2 separate regions of the Homo sapiens genome follow, and region 2 is linked to region 1. Evidence: promoter capture Hi-C in human tissues and cell types (Jung and others, 2019). All regions are on one chromosome and are shown on one strand. The core of a region is centred on a gene start or on the middle of the fragment in contact, and the rest is flanking DNA. Distances in the headings are between cores, read along the strand shown.

The links. The method cuts DNA at HindIII sites, captures the fragments that hold promoters and counts their contacts. A contact is called where the count stands out against the background at its distance.
Region 2: a contact is called between a fragment that was not itself captured here and the fragment with the promoter of PSMC1 in region 1, in 1 of the 25 tissues and cell types used here (lymphoblastoid cells).

The regions. Positions count from the first base shown.
Region 1 is chr14:90,255,293-90,257,992 of GRCh38, reverse strand. PSMC1 (proteasome 26S subunit, ATPase 1) reads right to left here and starts at 1,440. Exons shown (of 11, transcript NM_002802.3): 1 at 1,393-1,440. The coding sequence starts at 1,395. RefSeq lists enhancers at 737-1,264, 1,150-1,389, 1,265-1,794. The HindIII fragment of the contact is 25,675 bases long and covers 1-2,700 here.
Region 2 is chr14:89,024,373-89,027,072 of GRCh38, reverse strand. It overlaps LOC124903356 (a long non-coding RNA gene), which reads right to left. Exons shown (of 2, transcript XR_007064297.1): 2 at 1,264-1,581. Among named protein-coding and RNA genes, the nearest start is that of TRA-AGC15-1, 47 kb to the right of the region's middle. The HindIII fragment of the contact is 6,187 bases long and covers 1-2,700 here.

The DNA.
Region 1 (2,700 bases), core at 191-2,690:
GTAATTACCTCGAGGGAACTGTTGTAATAAATGAGAAAATGCTGGAAAAGTACTTGGTACATGCTTAGAATACTACCCAGAAATCCGTATAAGACCTCTATGAGGCCGGGCGCGGTGGCTCACGCCTGTAATCCCAACACTTTGGGAGGCCGAGGCGGGCGGATCATAAGGTCAGGAGTTCAGGACCAGCCTGGCCAACAGAGTGAAACGCCGTCTCTACAAAAATACAAAAATTAGCCGGGCGTAGTGGCGGGCGCCTATAGTCGCAGCTACTTGGAAGGCTAAGGCAGGAGAATCGCTTGAACCCGGGAGGCGGAGATCGCGCCACTGCACTCCAGCCTGGACGACAGACCAAGACTCCGTCTCAAAAAAATAAAAATTAAAATTAAAATAAAAAAGACCTCTATGAGATCTGGCCTTCTTGCCGTTCATGATACAGGTTAAACATTCCCATCTCAGGTCCTTTGCACTTGCTGTATCTTCTGCCTTGACCACATTTCCCTCAGACATCTGCAGGGGTTACTCCCTCAATTTCGGTCCGCTCAAATTTCACCTCCTCAGAGCTACCTTCGCTGACTCTATAAAAAGCAGCCACTCCTCCAAGCTATCCCTTTCTATACAATAACCATACAACAATGACCACCCCACCCCTGACATCATATTACATATTTCTGATGATTGTCTGCCTTCTGCTCTAGAATGTACGCACTATGAAGGCAGGGACTTCAATCAATCCTCAGTGTCTACAACAGAAGCTAGCCAAAAGTTTAACAACAACAACAAAACACCAAGTGCTCAGTAAATACTTGTTTAGTGAATTGATGAATAAATGCTAGCTGTTTTTATTATTACTACTGCACCACGGGCCCTTTCCGTCTTAGCTCCGCCTGTCATAACAACGTCTTTAAGGCCTCCTTCAAATGCCCCCAGCTCCGAAAGGCCTTCCACGACTCCGCGCTCAACTCCTCAGGTGGAATGAATCCCACCCTCTTCTCCAGCACCCTTCACCTGCCCGACTCAAAAAGCATTTTTCCCGGTGACTCGAGGAGGCGCCCCCGAAACTCCCAGCGCCGATCAGCAAAGCCCTGGTCGGCGGAGCAGCAAAGCCAGCGGCCTGATCCGTTCTGCCGCCCCACAAGACCACGCAGGAGACCCTCTCTCTGCTCTGAGCCCCGGCCCCAGGATCCCCGGGCAAGGCCCGTTGGTCGGCCCCGGCCCGCGGTGGACATGAGCGCGGTCTCTGGGAGCCTCCACCCGCCGAGAAGATCAGGCCGGCAAAAGGAGAAGAGGGCTGTCCCAGTTCCTCGGGCAGCCGCCTCTTTCTCTCGCCTCAGGCTGCTGAGACCCCATCGCACCGCGACGACCAGCGGAAAGAAACCCTTAGTCACTCACCATCTTGCCTTGGCCACTTGAGCTGCCGCTGCCGGAAGTTCCTCCACCACTGCGGCCCGCCAGAGGCGGAAGTCGTTAGGGACGCTACGGAAGCTGATAGGAACCAAATTCTGCGCTGACCAAGTTGTGCTCCAAGGGCTTGTGCGGGCGGTCTAGGGCAACGCAGCAGTTTATAAGCATAAAGTGAACTTTATAAATATTTTACTTGAAAGAAATTTTTGAATACCCGTTATGAGGCGCTTGTCAACAACTTAAGACAATGACCCCTACTGTCAAAGAATTAGGACAATCGTGAAAATATAAAATATTTAAATTATGCAAAATTTATAACTGGGAAGAACTTTATGGTTCTAAAAACTGGAATGGTATTTGGAACTGGGAAGTTGACATATACATTTGCACAAATATTTCAGTTATTATTCAGCTTCTGGAATTTAACCTGCACATCTGGGAGTATGTGTGTAACGAGTCTTCTAAACCTGTCTTTTTCTGATGACCTGTGACTTGTGATGATGCCAAATGTCTTAAATTCCTCATCTTGAAGCTGATTGGTAAAGTTCCTCATTTGTTACACCCTCCAGGACATCAGAAAAATGGCAACAATCCCTTCTGTTTCTGGAAATTTCATTAACAAGTGCTCAAAATACTGCATCTTTCTGAACTGGAGAAATGGATGATTTTTTTTCTGCTCCAGATTGATTTAGGGATTTTAGTTGTGAAACACTAAAAATATTTCCCTTATGAACACACAACAGGTATACTTCTTCCTTTTCATCATCACTGCAACACGGTAATAGAAAGTCTTAGCACTATCGACCTCTGTTAACAAATCTGGCATCTAGTGTACATGACACATGAAATCACACGATAGGACAGTATCACACATAGGATAGAGATGGTGAAACTCCCATCTCTACTAAAAATACAAAAATTAGTCGGGCATCATCGTGGGCATCTGTAATCCCAGCTGCTTGGGAGGTCGAGTCATGAGAATCTCTCGAACCTGGGAGGCGACGGTTGCAGTGAGATCACGCCCCTGCACTCCAGTCTAGGTGACAGAGCGAGACTCTGTCTCAAAAAAAAAAATTAATAAAAATTTAAAAAACAAAATAAATATCCTTTCCCTAATGCATTTTACAAGAAACAAGTAAATAGTAAAATATATAGTATGCCACATAGTGGTAAATGCCATAGGAAAAATTAATGCCTAGGAAAAATGCCTAGGATTAGGAGCATGCAGCAGTGGTGGGTGATTTTAACTTTAAATTGGATGATACTTGAGCAAAAGCCCGTAAGGCATGAAGGAGT
Region 2 (2,700 bases), core at 111-2,610, 1.2 Mb after region 1:
ACGGAGACGGGCAGCAGAGAGCTTCCCGAGCTCCTGTACCCAGGCCTTGTCTTTGGGCAACAACTGCCTCGCAGGTCCCAGAGTGGCCTCAGGTCCCCGGGTCGCGATTCCAGAAATCATCTCCGGGGGCCCAGCACGGACACGCTCCAGACCCGTGAGTTCCCCAGCGCCGTGCCGGGAGGTCAGGGGCGCTGAAAGAAGGAAGAATTCAGCCACCTCTCAGCATCCCTGTTACCTCGAGGACGCGCCTCTCCGCCAACCCCATCGTGGGCTCTTGCTCGCTGAGGCTCACCCTGGGTCAGGCACTGCGCTGACCCCCTCGGAAAAGAACCTTATGAGCATTTGACAATTTAGAGAGGAGTAAAATGAGGCAGAAGAGACTGAGTAATTTGCCAAGGTCACCGATTAATAAGTAACAGACGGGAACACAAGTCTATCTCTCAAGCCCATCGCCGATGGTTGAGACACAGCCTTCGGGTCTCTGTTGCTTCTCCACCCCCAGCCTTCTCCGAGGCGAGCTTATTTATTTATTTATTTTTATTTTTTGAGACGGAGTCTTATTCTGTCGCCGAGGCTGGAGTGCAGTGGCGCGATCTCGGCTCACTGCAACCCCCGCCTCCCAGGTTCAAGCGATTCTCCCGCTTCAGCCTCCCGAGTAGCTGGGATTACAGGTGCGCACCACCAGGCCCGGCTAATTTTTGTATTTTTAGTAGAGACGGGGTTTCACCATCTTGGGCAGGCTGGTCTTGAACCCCTAACCCCGTGACCCACCTGGCCTCTCAAAGTGCTGGGATTACAGGCGTGAGCCATCGCGCCAGGCCAAGGAGCTTTTATTGAGCGGAGTCGGGGAAGGCTGGGGATTTGGGAAGAGAACTCACATCTAACCAGAGCATGGGACTTCCCACTGCGCCCTGTGGCCGCCACGCCCAGGCAGGAGCTCCAGGCTGCATCCCTGTCTGTAAAATAGGAACGCAGGAGGGTTCCTGCCGCCTGTCTGTGACGCACGTCCCCTTCCTGCAGCCTCCCATCTTGACAATTTCAACTCTCTCACACGGAGGAAGACAGGCAGGAGAGGTTTCCATCGAGAGCCTGACTTTAATTATCCTGCGGGCTGGGAGGATTCTGGGATTGCCCATGGGGATAGTGTTCATGATTAAATCCACTTAATCTGGTGCAAGTTACTTCCAACTTTCTGAATCAGCTCTCTTGTAATTACTAATAACAGCGGATGACTTTTAAAGCACTCATCAAGTCTAAGCAGAATTCAAGATGAACAAATTTAGTGTTTACAAAAATATTGCATGTGGTAACATTAGACTCGTTGTCCATATAAGGAAATTGAAACACAGGGAAGTTAAGTAAGCACAGAGAGCCAGTGGCAAAGCCAGGAGTCACACCCAACCATCCAGGCTCCAGAGACCCCTTTAGCCGCTATGCTGCTGATGAAGACAAGACACCCAGAGCCTCTCTCCAGGTTTTCTGGAGTGCAGAGAGAACAAAGATGCACCCTCAAGGAGACACCATTTTTGCAACCGTTGTATCATAGTCCTCAATTTGTAGAACTAGGAGATTTTCTTCATACTGTTCAAGAGAAAGAAAAAAGGAACTTAAAAAGTAACTCTCTTTTGTGACTGTTCCTGAGAGTACTCTAAGGGAGGAAGATGTTCTCTGTGCCTAGAAGTAATAACATTTCATCATACAAAGATATATAGAGACCAGTATAAAGTCCCTGTTATCACCTCCTAAACACTTCATTCTTTTTATTCCGCATGGAAATATGCTTATGTTTTGAGAAAAGATGCCCATCTTTTTACAGCTTTTAAAACAGCAAAAGCAAAGACACCAAAATTTTGTGTATTTATGTGTCCCATAGCGTGAACGGTTAGGTTGTGTGGCAGATTGTATTTTCCAAGAGTGGCCACCACAATACATCACATTCCATATGCTCTTCTTAAAGTGTAACTGTGACATCCCTTGAACCTGGGTGGGTCTGGGCTGACTTCTTTGTATCCTCTCCCCTTGAACTTCAGTGAACTTTTGTGATCAGTTGATTGTGGCAGAAGTGATGATGAGATCATAAAAATGCCATGTGCATCTGCCTTGCTGTCTTGGGACACTTGCTCCTGGAACCCAGCCGCCATGCTGTGAGGAAGCCAAGCAGCCACATGCAGCAGCCACGAAGTAGGCGCTCTGGCCACAGTCCCAGCTTAGGTCCTAGCCAACAGCCAGCATTGATCCCCAGATATGGGAGCAAGTGTGTCCCCAGGCAATTCTGGCCTCCAGCTTTTCAGACACTCCAGCCAATGCCGTATGGAACTGAGATGAGCTGTTCCTGCCTAGCTCTGCCCAAATTGAAGATTCATGAGCAGAATAAGCAATTATTGTTGATTTAAGCCACTAAGGTTGGGAGGTTTATTACTTGGCAATAAGATGACCAGAACAGATTCTCCACACTTTTTTCACTATCGTGAACTGTTCTGCAGTGAGCTTCTTTGAGCATATTGCCTTCTGTACATACCTGATGGTTCCTCTAGGAAGACTTCTAGAAGCAGAATTGCTGAGCCACAGTATAAACCTCAAAGGGGATAGAGCAGTTAAGATGAATTAACAATATCTATGTCTAACAACATGGATCCATCTTGAAAACATGTTAACTGAAGTATATGCAAGGTATAAAATGATACAGAATAGTATTATTTA